Regions from separate parts of the Homo sapiens genome. Here regions 1, 2, 3, 4 and 5 are each linked to region 6. The links are contacts of gene promoters, found by promoter capture Hi-C in blood cells and fetal thymus (Javierre and others, 2016). All regions are on one chromosome and are shown on one strand. Each heading gives the region's core, a stretch centred on a gene start or on the middle of the fragment in contact. The rest is flanking DNA. Distances are from core to core; before and after follow the strand shown. Region 1 overlaps PRPF40A (pre-mRNA processing factor 40A). Region 2 overlaps PRPF40A (pre-mRNA processing factor 40A). Region 3 overlaps CACNB4 (calcium voltage-gated channel auxiliary subunit beta 4). Region 4 overlaps PRPF40A (pre-mRNA processing factor 40A). Region 5 overlaps CACNB4 (calcium voltage-gated channel auxiliary subunit beta 4). Region 6 holds the start of FMNL2 (formin like 2).

The links. The method cuts DNA at HindIII sites, captures the fragments that hold promoters and counts their contacts. A CHiCAGO score of 5 or more calls a contact.
Region 1: a fragment that was not itself captured here is called in contact with the fragment with the promoter of FMNL2 in region 6 in 3 of 17 cell types (M2 macrophages, M0 macrophages and M1 macrophages); the score reaches 6.5 in M2 macrophages.
Region 2: a fragment that was not itself captured here is called in contact with the fragment with the promoter of FMNL2 in region 6 in 1 of 17 cell types (M2 macrophages); the score reaches 5.3 in M2 macrophages.
Region 3: a contact is called between a fragment that was not itself captured here and the fragment with the promoter of FMNL2 in region 6, in 1 of 17 cell types (M1 macrophages). The highest score is 5.3, in M1 macrophages.
Region 4: a fragment that was not itself captured here is called in contact with the fragment with the promoter of FMNL2 in region 6 in 1 of 17 cell types (M2 macrophages); the score reaches 8.2 in M2 macrophages.
Region 5: a contact is called between a fragment that was not itself captured here and the fragment with the promoter of FMNL2 in region 6, in 4 of 17 cell types (M2 macrophages, M0 macrophages, M1 macrophages and 1 more). The highest score is 12.8, in M2 macrophages.

What each region holds. Positions count from the first base shown.
Region 1 is chr2:152,654,768-152,657,467 of GRCh38, reverse strand. PRPF40A (pre-mRNA processing factor 40A) reads left to right here. Exons shown (of 26, transcript NM_001365597.4): 26 at 1,070-2,700. The coding sequence ends at 1,162. Among named protein-coding and RNA genes, the nearest start is that of PRPF40A, 61 kb to the left of the region's middle. The HindIII fragment of the contact is 5,764 bases long and covers 1-2,700 here.
Region 2 is chr2:152,679,034-152,681,747 of GRCh38, reverse strand. It overlaps PRPF40A (pre-mRNA processing factor 40A), which reads left to right. Exons shown (of 26, transcript NM_001365597.4): 6 at 412-522; 7 at 2,276-2,396; 8 at 2,639-2,692. Among named protein-coding and RNA genes, the nearest start is that of PRPF40A, 37 kb to the left of the region's middle. The HindIII fragment of the contact is 5,258 bases long and covers 1-2,714 here.
Region 3 is chr2:152,054,116-152,056,820 of GRCh38, reverse strand. The region is part of intron 2 of CACNB4 (calcium voltage-gated channel auxiliary subunit beta 4); the gene reads left to right. Among named protein-coding and RNA genes, the nearest start is that of CACNB4, 44 kb to the left of the region's middle. RefSeq lists an enhancer at 2,591-2,705. The HindIII fragment of the contact is 225 bases long and covers 1,157-1,381 here.
Region 4 is chr2:152,700,741-152,703,494 of GRCh38, reverse strand. All of the region lies in intron 2 of PRPF40A (pre-mRNA processing factor 40A), which reads left to right. Among named protein-coding and RNA genes, the nearest start is that of PRPF40A, 15 kb to the left of the region's middle. RefSeq lists enhancers at 533-1,034, 1,307-2,506, 1,993-2,620. The HindIII fragment of the contact is 5,812 bases long and covers 1-2,754 here.
Region 5 is chr2:152,029,859-152,032,632 of GRCh38, reverse strand. The region is part of intron 2 of CACNB4 (calcium voltage-gated channel auxiliary subunit beta 4); the gene reads left to right. Among named protein-coding and RNA genes, the nearest start is that of CACNB4, 68 kb to the left of the region's middle. The HindIII fragment of the contact is 4,901 bases long and covers 1-2,774 here.
Region 6 is chr2:152,333,804-152,336,591 of GRCh38, reverse strand. FMNL2 (formin like 2) reads right to left here and starts at 1,418. Exons shown (of 26, transcript NM_052905.4): 1 at 872-1,418. The coding sequence starts at 988. RefSeq lists silencers at 359-458, 969-1,618. The HindIII fragment of the contact is 3,556 bases long and covers 1-2,460 here.

The sequences.
Region 1 (2,700 bases), core at 164-2,663, 320 kb before region 6:
TGATTTGGGGTGGAGGAAGGGCAAATAAATAGGAGAGGAGAATATAAGCCAAAGTTAGTATTTCAATAACAGATTACATAATTAGTCCTTTTCAAATATATGTATATATGAATGACAGAGCCTAATAATGCAAATGCTGTGGGTTTAGCAAGGGTAAATGCCTATGAATCATCACTGGAGAGCATAAACTATGTAGGTAAAACCCTATTAGGGATCTCTGGATATTCTGATTCGTTGGTATAGGGTGGGTTTTTTTTTAGAGCTGAAACAGGTGAGTCTGAGTCACATCGTAAGTGAAGAGTGAATGTTTCCTTTGTACTTTCTAGCAGCTTATGGTGGGTTAAATGAAATCCCTGGAGTGAATGAAAGAGGACGATATGGGAACTATCCACTTTTCAAAGGTTGTGTCTTACGGTGCAGTATTATTTTTGTTTGTTCAGCCTAAATCTTGTCCTGCTCATTAGTCTTGTGTATTTATTTGGCACAGGAATCCATATGCTTAAAGCATACTACTTCTGTTTCTGTGATAATACTTGTGGAACCAGGGGGAAGCTACAAAATTAGCAAGGAATAGGCCAGGTGCAGTGGCTCACACCTGTGATCCTAGCCCTTTGGGAGGCCGAGGTGGGCAGATCACGAGGTCAGGAGTCGAGACCAGCCTGGCCAACATGGCAAAACCCCATCTCTACTAAAAATACAAAAATGAGCCGGGCTTGGTGGCAGGCACCTGTAATCCCAGCTACTCAGGAGGCTGAGGCAGGAGAATTGCTTGAACCCAGGAGGCAGAGGTTGCAGAGAGCCGAGATCGTGCCACTGCACTCCAGCCTGGGTGACAAGAACAAGACTCTGTCTCAACAAAAAAATTAGCAAGGAATGTATTATCTAGGAAATGAATACCTGGCTTCCATTAAATGGAAATATTGCTTCATATTCACACAGTCTTTAAACCCTGTGAAATGTGTTTCTTTGGAAGAGAGTTTATATAGATATTGGATTCTTTTTTCAAAGGCTCAGCCCGTAAACCTCTGAGTACTGATGTCAACTATAATTGTAATCAATGTCTTTTCAGGGTAATTGGGATACTTCTGGCAGCGAACTGAGTGAAGGGGAATTGGAAAAGCGCAGAAGAACCCTTTTGGAGCAACTGGATGATGATCAATAAATTATACCAAATATATGTTTACAGTATGATTTAAAGTCTGATTCAGACCAGGGACTCTATTTTAAGTTCAACTGAAATAACACTGGGTTTTAATTATATCACAGGAAAAAAAAAGTGCATTTAAGTATTGTTATCGTGGACTTTATAAAAGCAAAGGAAATTGAAAGTAACTTTTGATTCTGTATCAAGAATCATATTTTCATACAGTCATAACTGTCTTTCTGTGACCCTTTCACAGGGCACTGTAGGATGGATTAAAGGTGGCAATTTACTGATAACTGCAGATGTCTCTACTTTGTTCTAAAATCTAAGTCATGAGGTGATTTGATTTACTTTATAGAAGCTGGATTTTGAAGATCTAATGAAAAATTTTTTGATAATATAGTAGTACAAAAAAAGCACCAGCAACTGATAAAAATTGCTTTTTTGTGCGCTACCCAACTGGTTAAAGCCAATGTGATCTTTTATGGTGAAACTCCTAAGAAACAGGTGGTTTTGCTGGAAACTTGGTAGACCCTTAATTATAGTGGTGCTAATGAGCACTACTGTAATATAAAGCCACCATTATTTTTTATCAAACATCTGAATACATTTTACAAAGGCTATTGTGAGGGCATTATTTTGAGCATCTATTTTGAGGTGATGTTTAAAAAAACTTTAACATCAAATCAAATTGTAAATTAATTTAAATATATTGCCTTAAGGACCTACTAAAGAATGTGCCACCAGACTTTAAGTGATAGTTGCAATATCCTTGTCTAAAAAAAAAAAAAAAGTTGACTTAAACATTTTCTTTAACAGTTGTCTTTTTTTTCTAAATTCAGTCTTTCTCTTGCTTTTTTTTCCCTGCTATTGAGGAAGTATTTTGCCTTCCCTACTCACTGAGAAGTATTGACTTCGTGGTACACATTCTAAAGCATTTCTGATTTGAATATTTTTGTACATTTTTATCAATTATTAAACCTTCTCTTCTAGTGTGTACTAGTATTTATTTCTACTTAAACTGCTCAGCTCTAAAGAAATTGTATGATCACTTTAAAGGTACTAAATCCCTGAAATTTTGCTTCATCTTACCCACACCGCTAGTTTACTTTCCTTTTTTAATATTTAAGAATATTATAAATCAGTGCATTTGAGGTCCCTAGATTTGTTTTTCACCTATGAATTTTTTACAGACTATTTTAGAGAGGCTGTGGTTTGAAGACAGAATACTCTTTACATGCTAACTTTTGAAGGTTGGTAATGTAATTTATACTATTTTCCTTCAGTGCAGGAGATTTTTTAAGTAAATAAGTAAATTTTAGCACCTATTCTTCGGTATTATCTGTGTTATTCTTTTAATGTGTACACTTGAAGAGATCCTATTTCAAAGTTGGGATTTTGAAGAACAAAAAGTTTTTTTCTTACCCATCCTAGTGAGTTTTGAAAGTGGGCCTGACCAGAATGTCTCTTTCCCATTTTGCCCCGTTTGAATTAAATATAATGTCTACTCTTTAAAGGCTGAAGGGGTGGGTGAGGGGATTGTTTCTCATTTTGTC
Region 2 (2,714 bases), core at 185-2,684, 350 kb before region 6:
TGGACTACAGTAGATGAATAGATGATCACATAGTCAGTTCAAATATATTAGCATCTAGTTCCTATATTTTCTTTATCCACTAGGCACAGATTTGTATTCTGAAAGATTGTCTTTTGTATGTAAGCTATAAAGTTACTGTTCTTAGGAGAGTAGTCTTATCTTTGTAATTCAGAGAGATCCTGAAACTTGAATTTACCCTTGCTGCTTTTGAAGTACTCTAAAAACCTTGTTTTTCAGTTCCCTTCCTACTTGTATTGATGAATTATTCTAGATTACTTAAACTGTCAAAATATGCCCAGTTTTTACTTTTGATTGATTTCTTAATATATTTATTGCCTTGGAACTAATGATACTGATATTGTCAATGGCATTGTTACATAATTTACATCTTTTTTAATCTTTATTCTTTAGAAATCAATGTGGACTGAACATAAATCACCTGATGGAAGGACTTACTACTACAACACTGAAACCAAACAGTCTACCTGGGAGAAACCAGATGATCTTAAAACACCTGCTGAGGTAAAAGTTTGAGAGCTGGAATTCAGGGACTGTCAAGTAGACTGGGGCGTATTTTTTAGGATTCTATAAGTAGTCGATTATCAAAGAGCAGTACTGCTTAAATGTCAGAAGAGGATCTGTAAAGACATTCAGAAAAAAAGAGGGTTAGTATAGTCACACCAATCGGGAAGAAGAGCAATAAAACTCAACAGAATAATTTTATTTACTGATTTTACCCCTGCTTAGAAAACCTAGTAGAGTGGGATCAATTTTAAAAAGGTGATTTAAAGAATAAATTGGAAGTGGGGAAGACTGTTTCTTTGCCTGCCGCTGGCTTTTTTTTCTGATAGCAAAACTGGGTGATTTTAAATGACTTCTACTGAGTTCTTAAATTTCCAGTAGGGTTAAGGGTAGTGGAGATGAAATTAAGTTACCTACAAATACTTCCTTCTCTTAGAGTGGGAAGTTTTCTCTTTGCAGGAAATGCCCTTTTAAAAAGTGTGTTTTTATTTTGTTTTTTGTTACAAGTTTTACCATTCAAAATATACAGATATTGAAGAAAAAGTTAAGGTTGAAGGAATAAACTGAATTAAGCAATGTCACATGTTGTTTAATTAGAAACTCTGGGGTGCTAAGTAAGTAAGAGTTGATCTGGCACTCCAGGCTATGCTTAAGTTTCATCCTAGCTGGTGGTATACCTTTTTGTTTTCTTCTCTTCCTAATTAAGGAATTTGAGAAGGTAAAAGTATTTTCCAGGTTGCTGTACTAACATGAACAGCAGTGCTTGGGAGGGGAGGTCGGACGATTTTTAAAAACATGTATTCCAGTACTGATTTATAGCCAATGATATTAATTACATACTTTGTCCAAGACACTCTGTTTGGATTCACACTTTGAATAGATTTCTCATACTACCCTAACAGGTTTTGTTTATTCGATTTTAAGTATATTATACCTACATGTTTTCTTACATAATAAGTTAATTCGTTCATAAACTACGAAACTGAAATCTAAGCATGACTAAATTAGATTTTGTTTTTTTTGAACTTTTATGGTTTTCCAACTAATATTAGTATCAGAGAAGTCTGTTAAATGTGGATGATAGGCCGGGCGCGGTGGCTCACACTTGTAATCCCAGCACTTTGGGAGGCCGAGGCGGGCGGATCACGAGGTCAGGAGTTCGAGACCACGGTGAAACCCCGTCTCTACTAAAAAAAAATACAAAAAATTAGCTGGGCGTGGTGGCGGGCGCCTGTAGTCCCAGCTACTCAGAGAGGCTGAGGCAGGAGAATGGCGTGAACCCGAGAGGCGGAGCTTGCAGTGAGCCGAGGTCGAGCTACTGTACTCCAGCCTGGGTGACAAAGCGAGACTCCGTCTCAAAAAAAAAAAAAAAAAAAAATGTGGATGATAATCTTGACCTATAATGGGGTGTGAATGGTTACAGTAAATAGGATTTGAAATTCATATAGAACTGGTTTTGAATCTTGTCTCTGCTTTTTAATGAGTATATTACCTTAAACAAGTTACTTTCTGACTTCAAGTAACAGTCCCTAGATACAGAATTATGTTACACATTTTGCAGTGTTATAAAGATTAAATAATGTATTCAAATGGCATCACTCAGTGAATATTCAATAATTGATAGTTTATATTATTACCATCATCTCACGAGTTTTAGAATTGTATCAATTGGTAATTTCTAGTGAAAACAGCCATGTAAATGATCAGTGATGTTAAATATATTATTATTAACAAACAGTTTTTTCCTTTTCAGCAACTCTTATCTAAATGCCCCTGGAAGGAATACAAATCAGATTCTGGAAAGCCTTACTATTATAATTCTCAAACAAAAGAATCTCGCTGGGCCAAACCTAAAGAACTTGAGGATCTTGAAGGTAAAATGGGGAAAAGTAGTTTTCAATGTATATGTTTTACATATATATGCCATTCACTTTGAAACAATTCCTCCAGAATAGGATTGTTCAAACAAAGGCCTTATTTTTTTTTTTAATTAAATGATTAGAACATTTAAAATGGCGTATAACAGTTTTTTGGGCTCTTATTTTCTTGTTGCTTTAGATCTCAGTTCTGTAGATTTTAAATAGATTTTTATTTGATTTGATTCCACTGAAACTAGGATACCAGAATACCATTGTTGCTGGAAGTCTTATTACAAAATCAAACCTGCATGGTGAGCTGCTTTGATAATTCAT
Region 3 (2,705 bases), core at 20-2,519, 280 kb after region 6:
ATCCATAGGATAATCACCATTCTCGCCTTATTGTCTAGGGATTTCAGACATCCTGAATGGGTACTAAATTTTCCACAGGATGTGGAGTTGTGGTGCAAGCAGTGGTAACTGGAGCATAAAGAGCAGCATGATTCCAGTTGCCATCTGGGTTATAATAATAATAGAACTATGAAGAAAATGCCAAGGGCATCACACACAGGTAGAGTCTATTAATTGCCTAGCAAAGCTGGGAAGACGTCACTAGGGGGTGGCATGTCTAGGTCTTCCCGTGTGAGCAGCAGAAGGAAGGTACCTTCCAGAGCAAAGGAGTTTCTAGTAGTGCAGTGGTTTTAGTAAACCTGGAGAAAGTTGATGAGGCTTGAGTGTGTGAAACATGGGAGATAATTGTAGCGGATAAACTGACAAAGCATTTGGGGACACGATATTTCTGAAAATTTCTAATTTCTTTTTTTTTTTTTTTGAGACAGAGTCTCACTCTGTCACCCAGGCTGGAGTGCAGTGGCGTGATCTTGGCTCACTGCAAGCTCTGCCTCCTGGGTTCATGCCATTCTCCTGCCTCAGCCTCCCAAGTAGCTGGGACTACAGGCCCTGCCACCATGCCTGGCTAATTTTTTGTATTTTTAGTAGAGACGGGGTTTCACCGTGTTAGCCAGGATGGTCTTGATCTCCTGACTTCGTGATCCATCTGCCTTGGCCTCCTAAAGTGCTGGGATTACAGGGGTGAGCCACCGTGCCCAGCCGAAAATATCTAATTTCTAAAAAATCTTGCGGGTATTGATGAACCAATTGGTATAACCAGATTTTTAAATATGGTCCTTCTGGCTTCAGTGTGGTGGGTAGTCACAGGGGCGTGGTGGTGAGTAGAAACCATGTGAGGAGGTGATGATAGTAACAGGCGAGTGAGGATATAAACATACTGAGCTTCGGTCGCCACTCACTTGCTGTGCCTTGACTGCTCTTTGTCACACTTTGCCCAGTTTCTGTCTCCTTCCTCCTTAGTAGTCAAAGTTTGAAAATTTCAGAGGTTAGAGTTCCTCCGAAAAAAGTTATTTGTCTTGGCAATAGCTTCTTAATTATCTTCTTAGAATCAGGGGGGAAATCAGCCTTCAAAGCTATTTTAAGGATTAATTAACAATTCTGAAAGGCTCCAGAAGCTTAAAAGCCTTATCTAGACTTTGCAGTGTTCAGTAATAATCAAAGTGATAATCAGAGCACAGCAGGACTCAGTGGGGTGTGCAAATCCATTCATGTCTTGCATTGCCTGTGGGCTGTGTGGTCTGCCATGTCTCCATAAGTGAGTGAGTCAGGGTAAGGAGAGGCCCTGCTGCTAAAGTGGAAAAGAATCAATGCCTACAACTGACAATACAAGCTGAAAAAAGCTTGTTTAAAGTTGATCTTAAGATATGGCACTGAAGCACAAGTAACCAAAGAAAAAAATGAATAATTTGGAGCTCATCAAAATTAAAAACTTCTGTGCTTCAAAGGTTACTATCAAGAAAGTAAGAAGAAGACCAGGCATGGTGGCTCACACCTGTAATCCCAGCATTTTGGGAGGCCAAGGCAGGCCGATCACTTGAGGTCAGGAGTTCCAGACCAGCCTGGCCAACATGGTGAAACCCTGTCTCTACTAAAAATACAAAAATTAGCCAAGTGTGGTGGCATGTGCCTATAGTCCCAGCTACTCGGGAGGCTGAGACATGAGAATCCCTTGAACCTGGGAGGCAGCGGTTACGGTGAGCTGAGATTGTGCCACTGCATTGCAGCTTGGGTGACAGAGCAAGGCTCTGTCTTAAAACAAAAAAGAAGACAACCCACAGACTGGGAGGAAATATTTGCAAATCTTATATCTGATAAGGGACTTGTGTCTAGGATATATAAAGAACTTTTAGACTCAGTAGAAAAGACGTTTCAAAAATAGGCAATGGATAGGAATAGACATTTGTCCAAAGAAGACATACCAGTGGCCAATAATCACATAAAAAAAAGTGCTCCGTATCATTAGTCACCAGGAGGAAATGCAATTCAAAACCACAATGACATGCCACTTTACACCCACTAGGATGGCTATAATAAAAAAGACAGATAATTTTTGGCAAGAATATGGGGAAATTGGAATCCTCATACACTGCTGGTAGGAATGTAAAATGGTGCAACTACCATGGAAAAGTTTGGCAGTTTCTGAAAAGGTTAAGTATAGAGTTATCTTATGACCCAGCAAGTCCACTACTAGGTACATATGCAGGATAAATGAAGGCATGTGTCCACACAAAAGCCTATACAAGAATGTTTTTTGCAGCATTATTCGTAATAGACAAAAAAGGAAACAACCCAAATGGTCATCAGTTGATGAGTGGATAAGTAAAATATGGTCTGAAGAAAAAATAAACAATTTTTCTCCTCTACTGTCATACAGTCACTCAACACAATACTATTTTTTTTTTTTTTTTTTTTTTTTGAGACGGAGTTTTGCTTTGTCGCCCAGGCTGGAGTGCAGTGGCGCGATCTCGGCTCACTGCAAGCTCCGCCTCCCGGGTTCACGCCATTCTCCTGCCTCAGCCTCCCGTGTAGCTGGGACTACAGGCGCGCGCCACCACGCCCGGCTAATTTTTGTATTTTTAGTAGAGACGGGGTTTCACCGCGTTAGCCAGGATGGTCTCGATCTCCTGACCTCGTGATCTGCCCGTCTCGGCCTCCCAAAGTGCTGG
Region 4 (2,754 bases), core at 98-2,597, 370 kb before region 6:
TTTGCTCTTTCAGTCTATTTAGGAATCTCATAGGCCCTTCATCCTTTTTTTTTGTTATATATCAAATGCTTTAGAGAGATTTGGGGTTTGGGGTACTGATTCCTGAATTCCTTTTATTATCATCTCCCTTAGGTCCTGCATGTTTTTATTGTCCAACTGGGGGTCTCGGGCGGGGAATTTCTGGTTCACAGTAGGAACTTTTTGACTGGGAGGACACTCACGTTCCCAAATTACCATAGCAGCCCTACGAATCACACTCCCTTCTTTTCCTGAAAAGAGGATGTCCAAGATGGACATTAACTCTACCCAAGTGTATAACTGAGGTCCTAAAAATTGATCAGTTTGATCTGTCACTCCATAAGGGTCATCTTGCAGTGGCTTAAGCTCTTTCTTTAAATTCTGGACCTCTGAACTGATTAAGGGAGCATTCACGGAGCCAATGGTTCCCCCTCTTTATGGCATTTCTCTTAAGGGAAAGAGAGCAGGGGCTGACTCTTGAGTTGTAGAGGGGAAAGGGAAGTTCTGGATATCCTTTTTACATTGCTCTATTTCACACTGGAGTCCCTTTAGGGAGGGGTCCTTAGGCTGATAGGGGACAGGCTCCTGGGATGATAATTTCTAAAAGTCAGGATTGTAAGGAGGAGGAGTAACATGAGTAGGTGAAGGATCTAGAGTGGGATCTGGGGCAGCAGCGGCTGCCTGAGGAGAGGGGTTGGGGTCACTGAGTGGGGGAAGATGGTCTAGGGGATCCCATGTGCTGGAGTCTTTGAGCATTGGAACTAACTTACCTAATTTTTCCTTTTGTGATGCTAGATCAGGTTCTTTCCTAGTTGTCTCAAAGGGAAAAAGGAGGACAGGTCCCTGCCTCCAACAAAGAGCATAGTCCATTTCCTCTTAAGAAGCTGGGCTTTTATCATTGACATATTGAATCAAAAGCTGACACATCGCACTCTCATTTGACCTAAACTTTGGCCAGAAGATTGAGGGTTTGAGGATGGGTCCCTGAGTCCAAATAAAACAGTAATTGCTGCTGCTTATGTTTAGTCTTCTCATTATCTTTCCAGTCTTTTAACATGAGACCTAGGGGACTATCGGGGCAATATCTTTACTGCTACCTTTATCCTTTTTACTCCTTGTCTTGCTTAGGGTATTTCCCATGTCAGGTCCTAGTATTAGAGACTTCTTGCCTATTCTCTGGAGGCTTGTTAAGGCTCAGTCCCTTGTATTAGAGATTTCTTGCCTATCCTTTAACCCCGCCTCCTGGAGGATCCTTGCATCCTTCTTTTGCTTTGTCCACTCTGGCTACTTCCCTCGTGGGAATTTAGGCCCCTCTTGGCATTGGCATGCCGGTATGAAACCCACAGCAGGATCCGCCCTAAGCTGTATGAAGTGACCACAGAACTGCAGATAGGACCCACTCACTCTGCACAGCAGTAGTGCTTGGTACCATTCACACAAGCAGCACCGCAAGCAGTAGTGCTTGTGATCATTCACACACACTTTCATCCTCCAGAATATCCCAACCACCAAGGAAATACTTTGTCACCCCTGCAACATTTCTTACCTTGGTCTGTGCAGAGTTACCTGGTTGCTGCAGCATGTGAGAATCCTTTTGCCAAGCTGCTGGCCTGTATCTTTTCTTGTTGCCGAGAGTCTGGGTTTATTTGTTGCACTGGATGGGTTCCAATCTCTCACACTGAGGCCACTGCAACAAGGCGATGGGATGCGCCTCCCCACAAGAAGTGACCAGAGACCGGTTCCCCGGAGGAGAATGGGAATCCTGGGTGGGCCCCCAAATTGTTGGAAGTAAATGCTTGGTGTCACAAAGTGAAAATATACTCAGGCAAAAGTTTTCTCATCAAGGCAATTTACTTCTGTAGAAGGGTGTGTCTCGCGGATGGAGCAATGGCAAGAGCACACTGGACAAGGGAGGGAAAGGGGTTCTTATTCCTAACAGCTGGTCCCTACTGTTGTGTCTTTCCCCTATTGGCTAGGGTTGGACTGCACAATCTAAACTGACTCGATTGGCTGCTGTTTGTAATTGAACACAGATATCTAGGCGGGAAGGGGAAGGCTATGCGTTATGGCGTAAGACATGTCTAGGCATGTCAGGGCGCGGCAAGGGCAGGAAGGGTTAGTTATAGCATGGATAACTACAGAAACCAGAAAAACGAAGTGGAAGAACTGGGAATTAAAACCTTTTGAAGAGGAATTTATCATCTCTGTCATGATATTTTGCATTGGTGGATTTAAAAGGAAAGCCACTTCTGCTGCTTTCTTGCTCAGTGTACTCAAAGTGGGAATCTGAATCTTCTCCCAGTCTGAATGATTCTGTTAGTCATGAAGAACTAGTGAACACTGTCTTGAGTTGAAATTCAGTTTGCTCTGTCTTAGGCTTTGGTTTTTGTTTTTATTTTAACGAAAATCTTACATTTATCTTAGACTTTGATTTTTATTTTTTATTTATTTATTTTTTTTGAGACGGACTCTTGCTTTGTCGCCAGGCTGGAGCGCAGTGGCGCAATCTCAGCTCATTGCAACCTCCACCTCCCGAGTTCAAGCAATTCCTTTGCCTCAGCCTCCCAAGTAGCTGGGACTACAGGTGCGCATCACCATGCCTGGCTGATTTTTTGTATTTTGGTAGAGACGGGGTTTCACCATGTTGGCCAGGATGGTCTCGATTTCTCGTGATCCACCCACCTTGGCCTCCCGAAGTGCTGGGATTACAGGCGTGAGCCACCGCGCCTGGCCAAC
Region 5 (2,774 bases), core at 32-2,531, 300 kb after region 6:
GGAGAGAGAAAATGCATTAAGCAAAAAAGCATTTAGATTTTTTTGAATTCCCTATTATTAAAAATAAAGTTGTATTAAAATGTCTCGGTAATATATGGTTAAACCATAGTCTCTATTTGTGTTTTTTAAGGAATTTGTAATTAATTGTGGCTTTCTTAAAATCATGACCGACTGAGTTAGATGTGCCACCATCAATAGTTGATAGCTAAAATTAGTAGCAAGTTAACAATTTACTTGTTCATTTCCATGGGCTGCTAAGTAGATTTTGGTCCAATGTATTTTAGGGGAAAAAATGTTACACTGAGAGTCAGGAGACATGGCTGTTGCCCCTTCCTGGCTGTGTGGCCTGGGTCAGTCCCTTCCCTTCTCAGGCCAATTTCTTATCCGTGGAGCAAAGATAATGGACGGGGGGAAGGGGATTCCTTCCAGCTCTCCACAGTCTCTGGTTCTATATTTTGAAGCCATCTGTGGGGCAGTTTTAACAGAAGGTCTGAAAAAATCAGACTTGGTCATGTGCCTCCTATTCCTTTTTTCTCTCTCTCTATTTGCCACATCCTTTCCCCACACTATAGAAGGATCCAGACACTCGAATCATCAAGGCTCTGTTGCTCTCCGCTCTTGCCTGAATATGAAATGAGGGAGTTTGCTGTCCCCTGATGGAGCCTTCGTTCAAGCAAGCCACGGGCTGTGAGGCTTTCACCCTTGGCTTGGCAAGACTGTCAGCACGGTGCTTCCCTTTTAGAGAGCCTAATGCCAACAGAAAGGGCAGTTTTCTAGTAATGGAGGAAAATATCAGTTTTCAAAAATATGGATAATTTTTAAAACCTCCTCTTTTTCCTGTTGCCTAGTTCTCTACCATTAACTCCAGGTCTCTCTTCAGGGTCTAGCAGAGACCCTGCTGACTGTCCTCTCACTCCTTAGAGGCCATCAGGACTCTGAAATCCGAGGATTAATGGCGGCCGGGAGGGGCTGATGGGCAGGGGAGAAAGCCTAGGATTAAGGATGAGGAGACCTGAGCTCCATCTGTGGATCCTCCTCTGCCTGGTCCCAGGCCTTTGAGCAAGCCCCTGGCTGTGTCTGACCTGCCTTCCTCCCTCAGGTTGTGCTGCAGAGGGGCCACAGTACAGATAACACAGCACCCGTCAACAGTGGGATATTAGGAGGAGAAGAAGTCTCCGCTCACCTGCGTGTGCTCTCTCATCCTCAGAGTCCCATGTTTCCAGTTTCTGGAAGGTCCTCCTACCAGCCTGAACTACATGCATTGTATAACACGTAACTGCAATTTAAATCTTGATTTACCCTCAGAGTCTTATTCGGTCATTAAGTCATCATCATAATATCTTGTACCTGTTACTTGTTCAGATTTAATAATTTGTGAAGTGTCCTTTGTGGGGTGACCAACAGTCCTGGGGACTGAGGGGTTTCCCAGGATGTACAATATTAGGTGCTAAAACTGAAAGAGTTCTGGGCACATCAGGATGATGGTCATTCTTCTCTTGGTTCCTCTTTTTCTTTCTGGAAGGAAGTTTCTCTGTAAATTGTTATTTCTTCATCTGTAAAATATCTTGCTAGTCCCGTGGCAATACCGCCTGTCTACCCCAAGTACCCTTTCTCCTGGACTGCTTGTATCCACTTCCCTGTTACTGCTGTGTTTTCTGCCCAGGGCTGAGGCTGTGCAGTGAATGAATCATCTTTCCCCAACCTTGCTTGACATCAGTATCAATTTTAGAAGGTGAGAGTGCCACATTTTCTTAATCCAGTCTATCATTGATGGACATTTGGGTTGGTTCCAACTGGATTAAGAAAATGTGGCACATATACACCATGGAATACTATGCAGCCATAAAAAAGGATGAGTTCACGTCCTTTGTAGGGACATGGAGGCAGCTGGAAACCATCATTCTCAGCAAACTATTGCAGGGACAGAAAACCAAACACTGCATGTTCTCACTCATAGGTGGGAATTGAACAATGAGAACACTTGGACACAGGAAGGGGAACATCACACACTGGGGCCTGTCAAGTGGGGAGGGATAGCATTAGGAGATATACCTAATGTAAATGACAAGTTAATGGGTGCAGCACACCAACATGGCACATGTATACATATGTAACAAACCTGCACGTTGTGCACATGTACCCTAGAACTTAAAGTATAAGAAAAATAAATAAATACATAAAATTCTTTTCAATAACAATGGAAACAAAATTTTCTAAAATTATGAGATCATATCTGTAAAAATTAATGATGATCTTGTGTAAAATTTCATCTATACATAGTGAATTATACTATTAATATTGATGAAAAAATGTAAACATAAATCTAGTGTCTTATAAGCATGAAAAATGTCCAAGTATTTTCAATGTTGTGTTTCTTTTGTCTTAACAAACATGTCCTACAGTGTTATTTGACTATGTGTGAATTTTATTTTTTCAAGACTGTGTTAATATAATCCTCAAACTATTTTAGAAGCAACTAAATAGTGAATAAAGTGAAGAGTAGAAATGTAATCAGAAAAAAAAAAGAAGGTAAGAGTGCTCACAATTGCCTCAAAAAGAAAATGAGGCTTCTTGAATTTGCACTTCAGCATTCTCTACTCAGTGCACCTGTTTGTGTAATTTGCTCTTTTCTTGTTATCATGATGCATGACTGTATTAGTCAGCTCAGGATGCCACAACAAAATACTGTAGACCAGGTGGCTTAAACAACAGGAATTTATTTCTCACAGTTCTAGAGGCTGGGAAGTCCGAGATCAAGGTGTTGGTAGATTTGG
Region 6 (2,788 bases), core at 169-2,668:
CTGTCCCAGCAGGAAAGGGAGAAAGAGGGGAGTTTTCAGAGTCCTGGATTTGAGGAGCTGGAAAGCTGGGAGAAGCGGAATGCAGGAGGGAGCGGGGGACCTGGCTGGGCGTGCAAGAGGAGGGGAGGGGTCGCCCGTGCAGTCAGGACAGCTCGCAACACGTCCCCGCAAAACTCCACATTTTTGTGGTTTAAGATTTAAGTCTAGAGGGAACGCGCTGAGGTTCTCCCCGGCCTGGGTTTCAGATGCCCCTGCTCCTCGCCAAGGGCCGGGGCGCCGCACTGCTGTGGGTCTCCGCTTTCCCTTTCGGGGAAGCTCCCCTTGGCCAAGCCGCGACGTGAGCCCTCCAAGTTCGCCTCCGCTCACCGCCCGGCGCGGCGCCCGCGGCCGGCCACATGCGCCCCATCTGCCGGGGACTTCGCAGGTCCCGGGCTGGCCGCCCGAGGGATGGTCCGCAGGGGCTCAGGGTGTTTTGTTTTGTTTTGTTTTGTTTTGTTTTTTTTAAAAAAAAAGCCTAAGCGGCTCGCCACCTCCTCCTCCCAGCCCGCGCCACCTTCTCTTCACGCCCACGCCGCACCTCCCGGGCACACGCGCCGTGAGGTGCCTCTCCAGCCAGACAATGGGTTCGAGGCTGGTTGGGCAGCCGGCCCTGAGCCCCCATCCCCATCCCGGGACCCCGAGAGACTGAGCGCGGGGGACTGCCAGGGGGGTGAAGAGGAGTGCTGGGGGGCCACAAAGGGGAAAGCGGGAGCCTCCCCCTCGGGAATGGAGGCTCGCTCCCGGCACGGGGTGAAGGGGAGGGGCGGGGGTCAGCTGCGCCGCCCGGCCCGGGGCCCCGGGTCCCCGCGCCCGACCGCCGCCGCGCACTTACCAGCACGATGGCAAATCGCTCCTCCAGTTCACCTGGCTCTGGCATCGGCAGCTTCAAAGGCACGTTGTGCGCCCTGAAATCGGTCTGCTGCGAATCCATGCTCCCTGCGTTGCCCATGTCGGCGGCGCGCCGGGGCCGGGGGCTGCTCCGGGCCCCTAGCGTGCGCGTCGGAAATCAGAACAGCTCCCGGCGGTCGGCTGCCGCCCGCAGGCGCGACCTGCCCGGCTCCCCGCCCTCCGCCGCGCCCAGGCGGGTGTGCGGCGCGCACCGCTCCCTAGCAGCGCTCCAAGCCGAGCCGCCCCCCGGCCTCCCTCATGCTCTCCGCCGCCCCAGCGCGGCCCCGGCCTCTTTTCCTCGGGAGGGGTAGTTGGGGCGCTGGGCGCCTATGTGCATGGTGCTCCGCTGGCACACCGCCCCCTGCCAGAGATCGCGGCCCCCGGCGCGTGGTCCCTCCTACTCGGCCTTCTGCCGGGCCCGCGGCCGCCGCTGACACTTCCAGCCCTAGCCGGCCACGGCTGCGCCTGCCTGGCTAGCACCTGGAGCAGACAAATGCAGCTCCGCGCTCCCCTACACAATGCCACCTCTCGCCCGGCGCCCGGCCCCCGCCCCCGGCCCGGCTCCGCCCACTCGCCCCGCGGACTGCCGGGACGCGTAGTTTCTCTCCAAAGTGTCCGCGCGCAGAAACCACGCCTGCTCTAGAGCGCCAGGCCGGGTTGGGACCATTTGCAGCAAAGGCGATCCGTAGTCTCTGGAGATAGCATATTGTCACTTTTGACCCTCCTCACCCCAACAGTGGAATACTTACATCGTGTATATCATGTTGACACTTGGTAGGCGGGTCTGACCATGACGGAATCGAATCAATGAATGAAGGAATGCATGCCTTCTGATTAAAATTCAGAAAATCGTTGCTGTTTTTAAAAGATCTAGTTCAGTAAGGAACTTCGAAAGCACTGGCAAAGTTCTGTTTCATAAACGGGGGGGTGGGTCCATGGGTGCTTGTTTATCGTTCTTTCTTCCATATATATGTTCTTTGGTGTGATTGAAATGTTTTATAAACAGATGTATAATTTATGGGTATATATAGTCAGACCCTAGGAGCTAGGTAAGGATTCAATTCAATTTAAAAAAAAAACCTGTCAAACACCTATTATGTATGGGATATTGTGTTCCTTGGTGGGAGAAAAAAGAGATTTGCCCTGCGCTGGAATACTTGCCAATCTAGTGAAGGAAAAAATGTACACACCCATATTTCATGTGAGATGGATATAATGATAGAGTGTTCTGGGAGACTTTGGGATGATCTTTGGCTGCAGCTCTCTTATTCCTTCACAGCAGTCTTGAGCAAGGTGTCTTACAGAAAAGATTGGACCTGACTCTGTCCTCTGGGGTGTATTTCAGACTATAACTACCCGTTCTGAAACCTCGGAAATAGAAATAGCCTTATAAGAGACTTTAGCCAACTGCTCATGTGAATGTTAAGGGCATACATCTGGTTGACTTGTGGCTGAACTTCTGCAGTTAGTCCTTTCTTAGTTTAAAGCAGTGTTTCTTAATCCTAGATGTGTATCAGATTCGCTTGGGAAGCTTTTTGTTAAAACTACACACACCTTGGGCTCTGCGTATTATCAGAATCTCCCTAAGCTGAGAGCCGAAGCCTGGGCCGGTGTATTTTCAACAAGCTCCCCAGGTGATTTTGATATGCAGGTAAGGTTGTTATCCTTTTAGTAAATAGCAAGTGTTTCTGGACAAGGTAGTACACCAAGATTCAATCAAGGACATTTCATTCATCTTTATAAACTTCAAGATACTTTAAACATAGTAGACGCCCAAGAACTATTTGTGGAATTGACAAGTGACTTTTTCCAAAAGCATATGACACAAATACACACAAATACATCATGTATGTTCTATTAA